2 separate regions of the Homo sapiens genome follow, and region 1 is linked to region 2. The links are contacts of gene promoters, found by promoter capture Hi-C in human tissues and cell types (Jung and others, 2019). All regions are on one chromosome and are shown on one strand. Each heading gives the region's core, a stretch centred on a gene start or on the middle of the fragment in contact. The rest is flanking DNA. Distances are from core to core; before and after follow the strand shown.

What was found. The method cuts DNA at HindIII sites, captures the fragments that hold promoters and counts their contacts. A contact is called where the count stands out against the background at its distance.
Region 1: a fragment that was not itself captured here is called in contact with the fragment with the promoter of STH in region 2 in 1 of the 25 tissues and cell types used here (dorsolateral prefrontal cortex).

What each region holds. Positions count from the first base shown.
Region 1 is chr17:45,941,343-45,945,486 of GRCh38, reverse strand. The region is part of intron 1 of MAPT (microtubule associated protein tau); the gene reads right to left. Among named protein-coding and RNA genes, the nearest start is that of MAPT-IT1, 48 kb to the right of the region's middle. RefSeq lists an enhancer at 2,576-3,076. The HindIII fragment of the contact is 5,172 bases long and covers 1-4,144 here.
Region 2 is chr17:45,996,250-46,000,499 of GRCh38, reverse strand. STH (saitohin) reads right to left here and starts at 1,250. Exons shown (of 1, transcript NM_001007532.3): 1 at 806-1,250. The coding sequence starts at 1,220. The coding sequence ends at 834. It overlaps MAPT (microtubule associated protein tau), which reads right to left. Exons shown (of 13, transcript NM_001377265.1): 9 at 3,836-4,101. The HindIII fragment of the contact is 3,441 bases long and covers 308-3,748 here.

The sequences.
Region 1 (4,144 bases), core at 1,143-3,642, 56 kb after region 2:
AGCATCGCTGTTGAGAGGGGGTCCCTACCTTCCAGCTCTAACAGGCAGCAAATGGTCCACAAACCAACTCAACATTACCCTTAAATATGCTAGAGGGGGAGGGATTGGCTTTTACATCTTCGATCCCTTTTTAGCCACACATATTCTTCCCTTAATAACAAGAGTAAATATTTCTATAGCCAGGCACTGTTACACATTTATCTTGTTTAATCCTCACAGCCACATAGGTGCAAGGGGCTGTTATTATCTTATTATCCCCGTTTTACACATGATGTTCAGCTGCCCAGGCTGAGGAAGGACACCTGTGGCATTGCATCTGCAGTCTCAGCCTTCGGTGGCACTGGGTGGGTTTGGAGACCTCCACCAACCAATCATGAAGCCCCACTCGAGGCCCTAATGTAGGAGGAGTCGCTCCAACCACACCTTTGTGGGTACATAGGCCCTCTTTGCTCCATTTTACAGCTGGGAAAACCAAGGCAAAGAGAGGCTGAGGAACCTCTAGTGGACCCAGAGAGAGTGAGGAGAGAGTCTGGCGAGAGGTGATTTGCTGGAGAGTTCAGCTTTACAGTGGGAAGTCTGTTGGGAGTGAGAGTCGGGAGGGATGGTGGGACTGTCGCAGCAGCATCACGGCCACTCTCTGAGGATGAATGGTCCTTCTTACAGTCAGGGCGTTGCCTCAGCAGCACCTCCGGGTGCTGCGAGGCCTCTCAGAGGCACCCTTGGGTCACTGGCCAAAGAGCACTGTGGGTTCTCGGAAGCACCTGCTCTTCCATCAGCTGTAAACCGGAATGATAACCAGCTCCTAGGCTTTGGTTTCTGAATGTACGCTGCGAACGATGCACTGCCTTGGCCTCATGGCAGGGGCTGGGGAGGCCCGCTCTACCCTGTACCCCGACCCGGGCCCAAAGCTGAGCTTGAAGGGCCCCCTGCTTGGCTTCTCGTTGGACCTGGAGCTCACCCATGAAGCCAGGACTCACGATGTGGCGATGCCACTTGCGCATCTATCCCCACGGGTACACAGAGAGGCCACTCGCCCCCAACCCCTCTCCTGGAATGCACCATATCCAGCCTTGTGAGTGGATGGGTGCCTGGACTCCCTGGGCCCCTGAGTTTGGAGGTGGAGGCTTTGGCTTCACGTCTTCCTGAAGGACACCTGTTCTCGGCTCAGCTCCCTCCATGGATTTGGGTGGAAAGGGAACCCGGACTGGAGTCAGAAGCCCTGGTGGGGTCCACTGGCTAGCTGTTGAGGCTGGGCCAGTCACTTGCCCTCTCTGAACTGCAATTCTTCATTTGAAACATGGGGATGATGACACTCCTGCCCCACAGGGTGGCTGTGATTGTCACTAGAAAAAAATGCATGAGAAAGGTGGCACTTGAACAAGCAGTCATATTCTGGACTGATGCGAGGTGCTGAAGTCATGACGTGTGAGTGGAGAAGGAGACTCCTGAAGATGGAGAAGAGGAGGCTGGACCTAAGGGAGAAAAGCAGGAGCCAGTAGGAGAGGCTTTGTCCCAACTTCTGCCCTGATGGTGGTGGGGTGACAGCAGGAAGAGGTGAGAGGCAGCTCTGGGGCAGCCCTGGAGAGGAGAGAAACAAGGGGCAACTTCCGGGAAGGTCTCAGAAGTGGTGGAGCGAAGGTAAACTTCAAAAGGAGAACCAGAGAATCTGTTCCTCATTCCTTCCAGCGCTGGAACCCACACAATGTGACAGGCAAGCACAGGGAAGACAAGGAAGGCGATCTGGGGGGACAGAGGGCCTGGCACTTTCTGCACTGAAGTCTCAGCTTTCGGGTAATGCACCCAGGAGCAGTGGGGTAGGTGGGAGTTTGAAAGGCCACAGAAAATGACCAGAAATGGGCTCTTTTTGCCATGATAGTTCATTAGATGGGGACAACAAGGAAGACAGGGAGGGGAGAGGAGGATTAGGAAGAAAAGGTGATAGTTTTTAAGATGTTTTCACTTCTAATTTTTGAGTCTGAGGTCACACTCTGAAAGTCGCAGGGGAGAAGAGGATGGCAATTCTGTTGGAAATCAGCAGTTGTCTGCCAGTAATGAACGACCTGAGCTCAGCACCGTCTTGGAGGGACAGAAGATAAACAGTGTCCGCTGAACACACGTAAGAAGTGCCACACTGCCAGGCATGGTGGCTCATGCCTGTAATCCCAGCACTTTGGGAGGCTGAGGTAGGCAGATCACTTGAGGCCAAAAGTTCGAGATCAGCTTGGCCAACACAGCAAAACAACATCTTTACTAAAAGTACAAAAATTTAGCTAGGCACGATGGTGCACATCTATAATCCCAGCTACTTGGGAGGCTGAGGCACAAGAATTGCTTGAACCTGGGAGGCGGAGGTTGCAGTGAGCTGAGATCATGCCACTGCACTCCAGCCAGGGTGACAGAGTGAGATTCTGTCTCAAAAAAAGAGAAGTGCCATACCAGGGCAAGCATACACATCTCCGAATTCTGTCTGACAGAGACAAAGTGCCCCCAGACACTTCTGCATGGCGGCATTGGGGCCAGAGATAAGCACAGCGCAGTGCAGGGAGTCAGACCAGGCTGCCTGGAGTCCACTCCGAATCCTTCACTTAGGAGCTGTGCGACTTTGGGGCAAGTCACTCAACCTCCCAGAGCCTCCTTTGCATTGTCTGTAAAATGTGGGGATTAGGTGAGTTAATACATGTCAAGTGTTCAGAACCATCGCTGGCTGTCGATGAACCCTACTATGGTTACCATCGTTAAAACTTTATCCATTAATTTAGCCAAACTTTTCTGTCTCCTGTTTGTATTTTCAAACTAAACAGCTTTTCAGGGCAAAGGGCCCCACCCCATTCTGGATCCTGGTATTGGGAGGGCTTTGCCTAGATTTGCATTATAATAGTGCCCCAGCTCCCGTCTGAATTTGGAGAGGCGCCTGGAGCTAGTTCTAGATTCAGAGTCCACCAGCGGGGAAGCAATGCTGGGAAGCAAAAGAAAGACTGTGGAAGGCTCTGAAGGCTCTTGTTTGACAGTACCCACGACACGTGGTGCCCCTTGGCCCTCTCGATGCAGCCTCCGGCCAGGCAGGGCAGATGGCAGACCCTGTGAGATCATCCCCTGGTCCCGTGACACCCTGGGGACAGAGCCAAAACCGTGTCCTGGTGCACCCTGGGCGAAGCCAACTGCTTTGTAAGGAAGAAGAAACGTACACTCTAGAGAGGTCCATGCATCATCAAGTGAAAACAGTAGTTGCAGAAATGTGCATGTTCAGAATTTTTATACATAAGAAAAGAATACATATATGTGTAGTCAAACAAATAAACAAACTAGAGTATATATGCCCAACAGGGGCTTTCTCTGTGAAGAGAAATACAATTAGGGAGATTTTCCCTTATTAGTGTCTACATTTTTGTCTCATTATACTGTTTTATAAACATGTATTATGTTTACAATCAGATGAAAGGCAATAATATGTTCTCATTTTGACAAAACAAAATGCTCTCGTTACAGAGTCATGTTCCACTGAGGATCTGTCCCACAGTGCCCTGTGGGTCTAGATCAATTTAAATGGACATATCAGAATTTGGATCAGGAAGAAAACAAAGTCAGAAGCACACACCTAGGTTCTGGGCCCCAAGAACATGATTTCAGAAAAAGCAGCCTCTCTCAATGCCAAATGTCCATTATCCAACAGAAAGACCAAAGAACAGCCTGGACAACATTTATGTCCTGAAACAGAAATTAGTCACATACCAGGAAGGAAGGAAGGAAGGAAGGAAGGAAGGAAGGAAGGAAGGAAGGAAGGCAGGCAGGAAGGAAGGAAGGAAGGAGGGAAGGGGGGAAGGGGGGAAGGGTGGAAGGGGGGAAGGAGGGAAAGAGGGAAGGAGGGAAGGGGGGAGGGAGGGAAGGAAGGAAGGAAGGGCGGGCAAAGGAGAAAAAGCTGGCAAGAAAGAAGCACAAAGAGTGTAGACACAGAAGAGGAAATGAAGTTCTGCTTGGAAAATGGCAAAACTCTACACCCCTGGGGTAGAAGCCAGGGGCAGGGGGAAGGAGGGGTCTCTGAGAGTCATTAAAGGGGAGACCCAGGAAATGAGAAGTCTGCCTCTGTGCTACGCCCTCCACACCCACCTGTGTCTGAGAGGCTTCTGGGTCTTCCAAGAGCCTTAAG
Region 2 (4,250 bases), core at 1-2,500:
GATCGGCGGGGCCTACGGGCTCTTCCTGCCTGGCACCCCACCCAGCTCCTCCTCCTTGCCTGCAATCTCTACCCCTACCCAGCTGGTGCTCCAGTGCGGCCACCTGATTATCTGCATTTTCCTTTCAAAATAATTCCATTTGGGGCCCCAAAGCAATCTATGTTCACTGTAGCAAATCCTGAAAACAGAGAAAAGCACAAAGAAGAAAACAGAGAAAAGCACAAAGGGGAAAACAGACGTTTTCCGTTTTTCCCCCAATGATTTGCAGCAATCTGCGGCAGTTTTCAGCCTCTGCAGGTTCCCAAACGTGACTTGGCTCCTGCTCTTTTCCCTTTGGTGTTAGCATCTGTTCCGGCACGGTTGAGGGATTCTTCAGACTCCGCCAGCTTTGCCTCTTTTGTAGCCAAACATTTATTGAGCACTTACTGCATACTGGGTACTACATGAGGCCACAGGGACCCAAAGGTCTCAGCAAAAGCTCGTGGAGCCTTCAGGCCAGTCCAGGAGGAGGAGGCCTGACACCCTTCAGCGGGTCATTTTAAAGGCTCTTGTGCATGGACCCTGTATGACATTTTTCTTTTTCTTTTTTCCTGGAGATTCATGTGTTGGTCTTTGTTATGGCTGAGGTTTAGTTTCAGACAATTTTTCTAGGCTTTCCTGGCATTTAAGGGAGGCTGTGACTGTGTCCTCTGCCACTTTTCCACACTTCGTCCCCCAAAATATCTCAAGAAAAGTCAAGTCACCCTTTCTCCTTTAACCCTTTAGTAGATTTGGACGTGCTGCCTCCACCCAGCATGGTGACGTCATAACCTGGGGCTCCCATCTGCCCCTTTCTACACTTGGCATGAGGTCGCCTGACTCTCACCCCTCATGGGCAGAGGCAGGGCAGCTGCAGGGTGGGAGGGACAGTTCTGGCCCTGAAAGGGGCCTTCAATGGAAAGTTGTCTTCCCTGCTCAGCCCCATTCCTGCTGCTCTCTTCAGAGCTGTAAGAACTGGGCCAAATGGTGCCCACACCTTCCAAGCCAACCTCAGATGAACTCAGGGTCAACAGGGAAGCTACTTCCCATGCTAAGCTGAGGGTTCTGTCTCTGGCAACCTGAATCATCCACTCACACAGAGGCTGAGTTAAATTAACCCCGCATTCAATGAGGGCCGGCCACCTGCACAGTCTTGTGGGGGCTGCAAAAATGCATGAGACTTGGCCTCCACCCTCACTCATGGCCCAGACTAGGGAGCAGCAGACACATGCTCAGTGTGGTCAGAGTTTACAGGGGCTTTAAGAAGAGAGAGGGGAATCCAGGAAGACTTCCTGGAGGAGATGGCAACTGAACTTGGATTTAAGGGAAGGGAAGAGATAAGGAGAGAAGGACATTCCCCACCATGGGACACAGGGCAGGGTATGGCAGAACCCAGGGGCCCCCAGAGGTGCATGGGCGGGGAACCCCAGACGGGGAGCAGCAGATTCAGGCTAGGGGGAAGGGAGCACCTTGTGGGTGCTGCTTGTTATGTGACTTGAGGAGATCCTGGATGGCAGTCTGGGTGCTGGAGCAGGATGGGGGTGCATGGGTGGGCAATGGGAGAAAAGGCAGGAAAGGCCAGTGAGGGCCCCTCTGGGGTCTTGGGCAGCACCAAGGCCAGGCACCCTGGAGAATGAAAGTCACGGTGGTCCCAAGATGGGGCTTCTGGAGGCGACTTTCGAGAACCGAATGAGGACTGGAAAGTCTGGAGACGAGGGAGCGCATTGTCCCCAGTGGAAGCGCAGGACAGTTTCCCTCAGCTGCGGTACAGGACAGAGGCCCTGGGTCACCTGTGAGTTATTTCCCCAAGGTCTCTAACCAGGCCACTGTGGTGGATGAGGGTCCAGAGAGCCTCTTCCACTACAAGCTCCACATGCCTGAGCAGGAAAAGGCCGGACCTTAATTTAACCCGGATCGTTTGCCATCAGGAGGGAGATTCTGAGATGTTCTCTTCCTTCCCTCCCTCCTGTGTTCCAGGGAGCTCTGCCCTTGTCCCCACAGCCACAGGGGAGCCACTGTCTGTCCTTTCCTCGATGAGAGGAGGTGCTCTGGGGCACAGCCGAGTCTTCTCCACCTCTGTGCACCGCCTGGCACGCAGGGACTCTCAAAAGAGGCCTGATGCACAGAGGCAGGGTCTACACATGCGTCCCTTTTAACCCGACCGTCCATTTCCATCCCGATGGGATGTGACACTGCACTCACAAGCTTGTTCGGGGGCAGGGGGGATCCTGGGTGGGGGGAGGTGGCAGGGTTTGAGGCAAGGTGCCCATGTGCACTGGTGGCCACCCTCCGTCCAAATGCCCCAGGCTCAGACCCAAGTGATAAGAACTTCAATGGTGTGGAGAGCGCCTGCGTGGGGGAGGCAAGCTGACACGCAGGCCCAGGGTTCCAGAAAGCCCCCTAGCTCCCCGAGGCCCAGTGCCCAGAAGGCCCAGCACATCTGCAGCCTCAGAGTGAGCTGTGGTCCTTCTCACCCCCAGCCTCCTCTTCACCCTTCCCCAGCTCCCCAGTGCTGGGTGGCGGGAGCGGGGTCCTGGGCTGAATTGTGGTCCCCGCAAATTCACATGTTGAAGCCCTAACCCCCCTCCCCAACACCCCCGTACCTTAGAATGTGACTCTATTTGGAGACAGGGCCTTTAGAGAGGTGACTAAGTGAAAAATGAGGTCATCAGGCTGGGCCCTAAGCCATGGTGGGTTTTTTTGGTTTGTTTTATTTTGTTTTGAGACAGAGTCTCGCTCTGTTGCTCAAACTGGAGTGCAGTGGCACTATCTCGGCTCACTGCAACCTCTGCCTCCTGGGTTCAAGCGATTCTCCTGCCTCAGCCTCCTGAGTAGCTGGGATTATAGGCGCGCACCACCACCACGCCCAGGTATTTTTGTATTTTTAGTAGAGACGAGGTTTCACCCTGTTGGTCAGGTTGGTCTCGAACTCCTGACCTCGTGATCTGCCTGCCTCAGCCTCCCAAAGTGCTGGGATTATAGGCGTGAGCCACTACGCCCAGCTGCCATGGTGTTCTTATAAGAAGATGAGCATGCGCAGAGCTACCAGGAGCACACACAGAGGGAAGACTGCAGCGGTGCAGGACAGAGGTGGCTACCCACGGCCACAGAGAGGCCTTGGAAGAAACCCACCCGCCCACACCTGGCTAGTGAGGAGGCATACTGCTGTTCTTTCACTGTGGTGCTTTGTATGTCAGCCCTAACGCACCCAGACGAGGGGCACAGGGACAGGAATGGGGAAAGGGATCCAGGCCAGGCCCCCGAAGTCTGTGCTTCTCCACCTTTAGGAAGCTGGAGAGCTCGCGAGCACCCACTTGCTCCCAGAAGAATCAGCTGATCAAAACAGAACCCCCAATCTCCCCAGAATCCAGAGGAACCCAACCTAAGCAGATGGCCCACGAGTGGAGATGCTGACCTATGGGTGGCAGTGTATTCTGCCCAGAAGGCAGGTGGGGAACCGCTGTGGGTGCCCTGACTATGAGAGCCTCCGGCCGTGGAGACACAGCCCTGCCATCTCTGTCCGATTAACAGGGGCTGAAGGGGCAAGAGAAGAGCCAGAACGTTCTCTCGCCTGAGGAGGGCACTCACAGTGTAGTGGAGAGCCCAATAAAGAACTGAACTTCCTTGAAGAGGGTCCAGAGGGGACTGGGGTGTTATGCGGGGGTGCTCAGGTGCGGGGAGCCCCACACCTCCATGCACAGTCCCACGACTCCACGCTCAACCGCGCACCTCCAGGCGCAGCCCTACCCTTCCAGGCACAGCCCTACCCCTCCAGGCGCAGCCCCCCACACCTCCACGCGCAGCCAGCCACTCTCACCTTCCCGCCTCCCGGCTGGTGCTTCAGGTTCTCAGTGGAGCCGATCTTGGACTTGACATTCTTCAGGTCTGGCATGGGCACGGGGGCTGTCTGCAGGCGGCTCTTGGCGGAAGACGGCGACTTGGGTGGAGTACGGACCACTGCCACCTTCTTGGGCTCCCGGGTGGGTGGGGTTGGAAGGGACGGGGTGCGGGAGCGGCTGCCGGGAGTGCCTGGGGAGCCGGGGCTGCTGTAGCCGCTGCGATCCCCTGATTTTGGAGGTTCACCTGGGAAGGAAGGAAGGGAGTGAAGCCAGGACTCGAGTGGGTGGGGTCAGAAAAGGCCCTGGGGGCTGCCTGTCCCGTGGGTCCATTCCCAGGCTCACCACTGGGTTAGGCAGGTGGAAGCCAGGTTGGAAGCGCAGCTACAGCAGACG